Regions from separate parts of the Homo sapiens genome. Here regions 2 and 3 are each linked to region 1. Evidence: promoter capture Hi-C in human tissues and cell types (Jung and others, 2019). All regions are on one chromosome and are shown on one strand. Each heading gives the region's core, a stretch centred on a gene start or on the middle of the fragment in contact. The rest is flanking DNA. Distances are from core to core; before and after follow the strand shown.

What was found. Contacts are between HindIII fragments. The study calls those that stand out against the background at their distance.
Region 2: a fragment that was not itself captured here is called in contact with the fragment with the promoter of FOXG1 in region 1 in 6 of the 25 tissues and cell types used here (H1 embryonic stem cells, heart left ventricle, lymphoblastoid cells and 3 more).
Region 3: a fragment that was not itself captured here is called in contact with the fragment with the promoter of FOXG1 in region 1 in 3 of the 25 tissues and cell types used here (H1 embryonic stem cells, dorsolateral prefrontal cortex and neural progenitor cells).

What each region holds. Positions count from the first base shown.
Region 1 is chr14:28,765,028-28,768,036 of GRCh38, reverse strand. FOXG1 (forkhead box G1) reads right to left here and starts at 1,250. Exons shown (of 1, transcript NM_005249.5): 1 at 1-1,250. The coding sequence starts at 757. FOXG1-AS1 (FOXG1 antisense RNA 1) reads left to right here and starts at 2,718. Exons shown (of 7, transcript NR_125758.1): 1 at 2,718-2,877. RefSeq lists an enhancer at 1,595-2,119. The HindIII fragment of the contact is 7,501 bases long and covers 1-1,801 here.
Region 2 is chr14:29,317,899-29,321,238 of GRCh38, reverse strand. All of the region lies in intron 4 of LOC102724934 (a long non-coding RNA gene), which reads left to right. Among named protein-coding and RNA genes, the nearest start is that of LINC02326, 250 kb to the right of the region's middle. The HindIII fragment of the contact is 5,587 bases long and covers 1-3,340 here.
Region 3 is chr14:29,346,670-29,350,124 of GRCh38, reverse strand. The region is part of intron 3 of LOC102724934 (a long non-coding RNA gene); the gene reads left to right. Among named protein-coding and RNA genes, the nearest start is that of LINC02326, 280 kb to the right of the region's middle. The HindIII fragment of the contact is 3,855 bases long and covers 1-3,455 here.

The DNA of each region.
Region 1 (3,009 bases), core at 1-2,500:
TGCCCTTGCCCGGGTCGTCGTAGTGGCGCGGCACCTTCACGAAGCACTTGTTGAGGGACAGATTGTGGCGGATGGAGTTCTGCCAGCCCTGCTTGTTCTCGCGGTAGTAAGGGAAGTTCTTCATGATGAACTCGTAGATGCCGTTGAGCGTGAGCCGCTTCTCGGGGCTCTGCCGGATGGCCATCATGATGAGCGCGTTGTAGCTGAACGGCGGCTTCTCGTACTTGCCGTTCTTCTTCTCGCCCTCCTTGCCCCCCTCCCCGTCCTTGCCGCCCTCGCCCGCCCCCTTCTTCTCCTCCCCCCCGGCGCCGGCGCCCTTCTCCTTCTCGTCCGGCCCGACGGGCGCCAGCTCCCCCGGCCCGCCGCCCGGCTCGCCCTTGCCGCCCAGCCCGTCCGCTTTAGCCCCGTCCAGGGCGGCGGCCGGTGGTGGCGGTGGCGGCGGCGGGAGCAGCAGCTGCTGGGGGCCCTTGTCGTCGTCGGCGGCCGGGGCGCCCCGCGTCTGGGGGGGCTGCGGTGCCGGGGGCGGCGGCGGCGGCGGCTGCTGCTGCTGCGGCGGCGGCGGCGGTTGCGGGGCGGGCGGCGGCGGGTGGTGGTGATGGTGGTGGTGGTGGTGGTGGTGCTGGGGGTGGTGGCTGTTGTGGTGGCCGTGGCTCGCGTGGTGGTTGTCGTTCTGGACCGCCTCGGGCACCAGGCTGTTGATGCTGAACGAGGACTTGGGGATCATTTTCACCTCTTTCCTATCTCCCATGTCCAGCATCACCCAGTCGTCGGGGGGAAACGGCGGCGGCGGCGCGGGAGCGGGACAGCGGCGCGGCGGGCGGCGGCGACCGGTGGGTGCCGAACGGGGCGCGGGGGGCGCGGGCGGCAGCGGCGGCACTGAGCGCTCCGGCAGCAGCGCAGTTGGACCGCAGGCTCGGGCGCTGGCAAGTCATGTAGCAAAAGCAGCAACCACCCCTCAGGAATTAGAAAAAAAAAAAAAAAGGAAAAGAAAAAAGAAAGAAAGAAAAAAGAAACAACCACCGCCCCGGGGGTGAAGCTCCCTCGCTCCCAACTGTACTTCTTGGTCTCCCCCCCCACCCCCCGCTCCCCCCCCCGCTGCTTCCTCCTCCTCCTCCTCCTCTCGCAGCAGCAGTCACAGCAGCAGCAGCAGCAGCCCAAAGGGGGGGAGAGCCGGGCGGCGGGCGGGCGCGTCCCGGAGCGGCCGCGGCGAGGCTGGGGAGACAGCGATCGAGGCGGCTATAGCCACAATTAATTTTCCGAGCTACAGGCGCACACTAGGGCTGTAAAAAAATTTTTGGTTTAACCTTTCCTACCGCTGGGCCAATCAGAGCTGGCGGCGTGCGGGAGCGTCTCTCTCGCCGTCGACCAATCGGAGGGGCCGGGCCCACCCACCCCCGCCCCGCCCGCCGGCTGCCGCCCCCTCGGGCGCTCGCCTCCCCCTCTCCGCGGGCCTCGGACCCCGAGGCCGCGCGGAGCCGCGTAGGGATACGCCGGCGGGAGCACGCGGTGCCGCAGCCCTTCCCTGCGCCCCCGCCACCCCCTCCACCCCGCCGGCTCCGCTCCACCGAAATTCCCCTCCTAGGGCCAATAGCTCACATTTCCGGCTTCCTCCTCATTGTACTGGGTCATTTTCGTTTAAGCGTCAATATTTGTCCTTAGTGATTAAAGTTTGTATCCAATTTTATTTTTGAAAGCGGGGGTGGTGGTGGTAGTGGGAAGAGTGGGAGTGCAGGGAGAGGATGCGAGAGGGCAGGAAATGGAGGAGGTAGAGGCGAGGCACTACTTTTCCGAGTCGGCCTTGCAGGCCAGTGTCTGGCATTTCTGAGCCAGCAGGAAAATTGTGCCCTTTGTAGGTAATAGTCTAGCGCAGCTTTGGATAAGGGGGGAGATAAGGCCCACCGCTGGCGTGTGTGCGGGGGTGTCCTTTACTTCGGGGGAGGAGGGTGTGGGAGAGCTTTGGGAGCGATGAGATGAGGAGGAGGAAGTGGGCAGAGGAGCGCGGGGCCAAACAGGGGTTACTTACTCGATTCCTGAGGCCTGGGCGGCGGCGAGCTCCGGGCTCCGGCACCGCGGGGAAACCGGGACTGGGGCTCCGGGTGCTGCTGCGGCGGCCGGGGCCGCTCAGTAGTGGGCGCCTCTGATGGCCTTCCGAAATGAGAGGTGCCCAGAGAGAAAACAGTACCAAACAATCTCGAAATAAATCAGGTAACACATGCTATATACGTGTGTCTCTTCCTTTTCCTTCTCTCCTGCTCCAGAGCGTCGCTCACGCGCGGGGTGACTCGATGTCGTTTTCTCCTCGCCGCTCCAGCCTCAGCTTCTAATCCGAATTGGAAGCGGGTAGCTGCGAGCGATCACCCTGGAAATATTTTCGTTTTGCTTGTTGACATTGGAGGGAAAATAAGGGTGGGCGTCTATTTCTTTCCGGTTTTTTTTTTAAGCCTTCCTATTTTCACTCCTTTTTTTTCCTTTCCGTTTCTCAAATGCTTTTATTTTGTGCGGGCCTCATTCCTGAAATAACAGTATACTGAAGCCAGCTCTTGCCAACCCTGAGTGCTGCTGGAAAGCACCGGGGAGCCTTGGGAACGTGGATCTCACAGTCCCAGCTTCTTGGGCTTTGGAACTGGGAAGGTTCGGTTGGAGGTTGAAGTGAATGGGGAAATTGCGAATCGGGGGCTTTAAAAGGATCCCGTGGCCAGGGGCAGGGCTAAGGCCCAGCATTTCCCAGGGATTGGAATTTAGTGGGGAGCACATTGATCAAAGGCTGTTTCATCCCACATGGGCACGAAACATACCACATTTTACGGAGGATGTAGCCCCAGAGAAGAGGGAGGTGGAGAAGCATAAATGAAAGGCACCTTTTCCTTCCTCTAGAAGGTAAATAATTATAAAATGTAAGCATTTCTTCACTTGGATAAACTTTCATTAAGATATCTGGCAGATTTGGTATTTAAGAAAACGAAGGAAGGAAAATTGGTGCTTATGCTTGATCCTAAAGTTAAATTGTAA
Region 2 (3,340 bases), core at 321-2,820, 550 kb before region 1:
CAGCTACTCAGGAGGCTGAGGCAGGAGAATGGGTGAACCCAGGAGGCGGAGTTTGCAGTGAGCCGAGATCATGCCACTGCACTCCAGCCTGAGCGACAGAGTGAGACTCCGTCTCAAAAAAAAAAAAAAGAGTGTAGAGTCTGGGCCATTAGTAGTCCTACCTGCATTGGGTTATTGCAGATTTCCATTGAGCTTAATCACAGGGCATGATAATTCAAAGAGATACCGTAAGAGATCTCCTGTATTCCTGACATACTCCTTCTTATCTCTATTGCAAAGCAGTAGTCCAATTTCCTCTTGGTAGTCAAGATCAATCTCTCCAGCCAGTACAGTAATTTTCTGCTTTGCCTCTTGTTTCAGAGGCCTGAGAAGCCCCAAGTGGCCAGTTGGCAATTTTAACTTCCAGTTTAATGGAAATATTGCTTTTTCTAGTAGAAGCATTCCTCCATTTGGAACTAAGGTCTCTAGGTCAGCACAATATACAGTTAAAGGGATAGAACAAAGGTTTGCTATTGCATCAATAAGGATAATACTGAGGTGTGCCACTCCCATTTCCACCCCTTGATTCCTGGACTCCAAGAATCCTGGCTATGGGATAAACAACACCATATATTGGATGCTGATTCTGAGCATATATAGTCTCCTGGAGAACCTTGTCCCAGGCCTGCAATATATTGCCACCTAACTGGGGCTGTTAATGAGTCATCGAAAGACCATTCCACTTTTCTATCAATTCAGCAGCTTTATGATGGTGGGAGACATGGTGAGACCAGTGAATTCCATGAGCATGAGCTCATTGCCAAACTGCTTTTGCTATGAAGTGAGTTTCTTGACCAGAAGCAATGCTACATGGAATACCATGATAGTAGATAAGAAAGCTTCATAGCTACATGATCACCCTGGGGAATGGTATTATACTGTGTACTCATTGTCTCAGCTGCTGGTAATTTAAGTACTTAGCAGTGACCATAAGCCAGGTAAGCCTTGGTAAGTGGAAGTCCATGTTGCTGGGCCCATATATGATCTTTCTCCCTGCCATCATGTGTACTTTGTTCATGAACCCATTGGGAAAGGATAGGGGTTGTTGGGGAAGAGGCTGACTGGTATCTAAAGAACAGGTTAACTTATACTGTTGATTATTAAAATCTCCTTCTAGTGAGTTCGTGTTTTGGTGAGCATTCACTTAAGACACAAATATCTTCACATTTCTTTTGCCCATTCAGAAAGGTCTATCCATATATCTTGCCCGAAATTTTCTTGGCACCAATTTTCCAATTATGTTTCTTCCAAGTTTCTATGTTCCAATCAGAACATTGGCCACAGCCCATAAGTCTATATATAATTGCCTGTCTGGCTATTTCTCCTTTCAAGCAAAGTGAACAACCAGGTGCAATGATCAGCATTCTGTTCACTGGGAAGATTTCCATTCACTACTCAGCTTTATGGATGTCCCAGATTTCCCTTCACCAGTAACCTTTAGGGATGCTGCAGCTGTCCACTTTTTGGTGGTGGTCATAATGGACAGCTCAGGTTATATGTTAATTCATGGCCCATAGTTAAGCATTTGGTCTGTACCAAGGCCCAGTAGCAGGCTAAGAGCTGTTTTTCAAAGACAGAGAAGTTATCCACAAAGGATGCCAGGACTCTGCTCCAAAAATTCCATGAGCCTGAGCTGTGATTTACCTGCAGGGACCCACCAAAGACTCCAAATAGCATTTCTATCTGCCACTAATAATTCAAATACCATTGTATCTTCTGGATATTATGGCTCAAGTGGCAAAGCAGTTTGCACAGCAGCCTGGACATATTAAAGAGCCTTCACTTTGTTTGGGCCTCAAACGCTAGCACTTTTGAGTCACTTGGCAAATAGGCAGGAGTAACACACCCATATTAATAATATATCTTCTCCAAAATCCAAAGAAGCCCATTATGTATTTTTATTATTTTGGTTGTAGGAAGGACCAGATGCAATAGTTTATCCCTCACCTTAAAAGGTATGTCTCAACACGCCTTGTATCACTGGACCTCTAGAAATTTCACTGAGGTAGAAGGCCTCTGAATTTTTGTTGGATTTATTTCCCACCTTCCGACACACACAAGTGTCTTGCCAATAAGTCCAGAGCATTTGCTGCTTCTTACTCACTAGGTCAAATCAGCATAATGTCGTGAATATAATGGACAAGTGTAATATCTTATAGAAGGAGAGATTATTAAGATCTCTGTAACCTAAATTTCGACATAAGGCTGGATAGTTGATATATCACTAAGTTTGGAGAGCGAACGTGTATTTCTGGCCTTGCCAGCTGAAAGCAAACTGCTTTTGGTGATCTTTCTTAACAGATATGAAGAAAAATGCACTTGCCTGATCAATAGCTGCCTACCAGGTAACGGGATGTGTTAATTTGTTCAAGCAGTGAAATCACATCTGGTACAGCAGCTACAATTAGAGTCGCCACCTGGTTAAGCTTATGAAAATCCACTGTCATTCTCCAAGATCAATCTGTCTTCTGCACAGACCAAATTGATGAGTTAAATGGGAATGTGGTGGGAATTATCAGCTCTGCACCTTTCAAGTGCTGGATGATGGCATTAATCTCTACAATTCCTCCAGGAATGCACTATTTTTTTTTTTATTCCTATTTGCCAAGGTAGACACAGTTCTAGCAGCCTCCATTTGATCTTTCCCACCAGAATGCCCTTACTCAACAGGTTAGGGAACCAATGTGGGAGTCCTGCCAACTGTTGTGTATATATATTCCAATTACGCAGTCCAGACTGAGTAAATGACCACAGGATGCGTTCGAGAAACCCACTGGGCCCACTGAGCTAAAACTCCATTGACTCTGACCTCTATAAGCTGCTACTCTGACTTATGGACCACAGTGATGTTTAGGTTTCCTGAAATAAGTGTCAATTCAGAATCAATGAAAAGTCTGATTATTTTCTTTTCCCTAGTGCACAGTGACCTTGATAAAAGGCCATAGATACCTTTGAGGATGGCCAAGGGAAAGATTAACAGTATAATTTTTTGGCGGTGTCCAGGGTCTTTCCTCAAAGGACCTGACCACCCCTTCATTCAAAGAGTTCTGGGTCTACAAACTGGCTCAAGTCTGGGAATTAATTGAGAGGCCATGACTGTTTTTATGATTCAGATTAGACTTTTGTTCACTTGACCTAGAACTTTTCCACTTTTACAGACCAAATGAAGCGTTTAGCAGGATTCTTATCTATTGCAGGTCGAGGAACACCATGAGCAACTAGCCAATGCCATAGGTCTGCATGAGTAAGTATTCTGATTGATACTTTGGCTCTACTGACCTCTAATATAGTAACCACACCC
Region 3 (3,455 bases), core at 340-2,839, 580 kb before region 1:
ATTTGGAAACTCTTGACTAGGTCCCCTTTCTCCCAAATTCTTACACAAAATAAAATAAAATAAAACAAAGCAAAACTCCACAAATTATCATAGGCATAACATTTAATATTTTAGTGATTTTTCTAATATATGCCTTTTATATAAAAAATATATTCATATTATGGGCTGGGCGCAGTGGCTCATGCCCGTAATCCCAGCATCTTGGGAGGCCGAAGCGGGTGGATCACAAGGTCAAGAGATCGAAACCATCCTGGCCAACCAACATGGTGAAACCCCGTCTCTAGTAAAAATACAAAAATGAGCTGGGCATAGTGGCACACGCCTGTAGTCCCAGCTGCTTGGGAGGCTGAGGCAGGATAATCTCTTGAACCCAGGAGGTGGAGGTTGCAGTGAGCTGAGATTGTGCCACTGCACTCCAGCCTGGGTGACAGAGCGAGACTCCATCTCAATGTATAAAATATATGAATATATATATTCATATATAATATATAAAATATATATAATATACATAAATATATTAAAATAAAATAAATAAAATAAAAATATATAATATATATAATATATGAATATATATTCATATTATATAAAATTATAAAATAATATTGTTTTATAAACAGATTTTTCTACCATATAATGAACAGTTTCCATATCATTAAATATTATTTTCATTGCAATATAGAATTCCATTAATGGACATGTAATTCATTTAACCCATATTCTACCACTGGGTATGTAGATTATTTTCATTCCTTTTTCCTATTCTAAGAAATGCCAGTAGGGACGTATTCTCATAGGTATGTTTTTGAAAGCACTTAAGGTATTTTGAATACACTGCTTAGCAGGATACAATAATATCTATTCTCCTCAATCAATAAATTCCTATAAATAAGTCTCCTTTCCTAAGCAGATGAAAGTATTAAACTACAAACTGTGTGCCTCATATACTAGTAGAGAATATTATACTAGCCCATCAGATTTATTTGTTTATTTTAATTCTTCCATCCTGCACTACTGCCTTGTGCATCTTACCCTAGTAATCAAAGAGCTGAGTTTTTCTGAAGAGGCACAAACTCAAAAAATCCCAGTTGTATCCTGTCACCTTATGCATGGATATTCACATCCTGGCAGCACTGTGCCAGACACCAGCACACCCATTTCCCAAATAGTCTGATTTATGTCACTGTGGAGCCAACCACCAGCCAATCCACACAGCTGGATTCAGGAATGGCCATGAAACCTCCAGGCAGAAGTTTGAAAGTCAGTATATGAGTGACTATGTCTTTTTTGCCCCCTTTGCTATGAGACCATGTCTAGGTAGAGGCTGACCTATTAGTCTCCTCCTGTAATGCACATTTGGAATATAGCCACAGCTACAATGGACAAAGGATGAGTGAAAAATTACACTCTGCTGTTGTAAGGTACTGAAATTCTGGATTCATTTGTTATGACACATTGATGATCTTCTCCTGACTAATACACTTAGAGAACAGCAATGTATTCATAGAAATAAGGAAATCTTGAGAGGCAACATCGAGAAGTGGATGAAGCCAGTCTCTTTAGGCTAAAACCTTCTTCTTGCCTCTTTCTAACCAAGTAAACTTGAAGACATTGCATAACTTTTATAGGTTCTTAACCTCCATGGAAAATGAAGATAATAGTACCTAGCCTCAAATAGTTATTATGAAGACTGTATGATATATTACATGTAGCATTTAATGTCTGATAATACATAGAAAATCTTCAATATATATCAGCTCATTTTTAAAACTAGCATTAGTAGTTTTAAGCAGAGATTACAGCAGTAGAGAATTTGGGTTTTAACTCAGAAACACCTGGCTTCAACTCTCAATTCTGACACTCTCAGTGTAAATTTGTGTTCATAACTTGAGTTTTCTGAGCCTTTGTTTATTGACTTACAAAGTGAGGATAAGAATGCCTACCTATTGTATCACTGAGGCGATGAAATAAGTTTGTATGTATAGGGAGCACAATGCAGGGCACATTGGAAACACACAATAAATGATGATGCTGTTATGATTAAAAATCAATAGTGATCATTTTAAAAAGACTCTGAATGATGGAAAGGTACTTTGGTGGCCATATTTGGCCATCTTCTCTGGATATTAGAATCTCAATTTGTTGCTTTAAAATCTGCTGCTGTAATCCCAGCACTTTGGGAGGCTGAGGCGGGCAGATCATGAAGTCAGGAGATCGAGCCCATCCTGGCTAATATGGTGAAACCCCGTCTCTACTAAAAATACAAAAAATTAGCCGGGTGTGGTGGCGGGCACCTGTAGTCCCAGCTACTCAGGAGACTGAGGCAGGAGAATGGCGTGAATCTGGGAGGCGGAGCTTGCAGTGAGCCGAAATAGTGCCACTGCACTCCAGCCTGGGTGACAGAGTGACAGTCCATCTAAAAAAATAATAATAATAAAAAATCTGCTGCTAAACTTCTAAATCAACTTGATGGGTCAACTCTGATTTTATGCACAAATTTCATGTAGCATGACTGCGAGAATCATCTTTGATCTGACCAAGAATCTCTTTAAATAATTAAACCATGTTGAACTACATAAAATATGTGTTATACAAAATGTAATCATCCATTAGTCAAATCTGTCTAGTGAAAGAGGATTTCAAGTGTTTGCTGAGAGACAAAGAACAGACAAAGAAGTGAACCTACCTGGTTTATAGTCTTGATTCACAAAAACAGGCCCTATGAACTTGGAGAAAACTTATGGGTACAAGTTTTCTCATCGTTAAGCTTACTTTGTCATGGTTCATTAGGCAATGACTGAAGTAGGAGAAACTGTATATTTGATTTCCAACACCCTGAGGTGATAAAAAAGATAGTTTTTGTCATATAATTTCAGCATAGTTTTCTCTTCAAATGTAGAACTGCGTTGAAACTATCAAATATAAGTGACTTTTGAAAGTGCCAATAAGCTAGGACCTTACTTTGCATGGCTCCCATGGTTTTTGAAGTTCTTAAGTAAATTCAAAGTAAGCGACACCAGCATCACCATAAGTAATGATGAGTAAACAATCCCACTTGCCAGCTCCATGCCTAGGTTTTCCTCATTGTAGTGAATGTTGTGATGTGAGCATGAAAGTAGGAAAAAACTATCACTTTTCAACAACGGTATTAATTTTTTCAAATCTTTCATTTCTCATTTTAATACCATCCAATATTTCTTCATTTTCCCCCATTACTTGTGTGGTTTTTTCCCAAAACTTCTCAAATTATTTGCAAAGAGCCCCTTTCACAGAAGTAAAATCCAACTTAAATAGAGAATATTTAAAATGGGACATAAGGAGAAAATGTAATTTAAATTAGATGCATGGATATGCTTCAGACATCCATAAAAATGTAAGATATGGATAGAATTAGTTTTAGTTTTAGTTTTATAATACCATCAGACCTCAGGTATCTATTTTTATGACCTTGAACATCA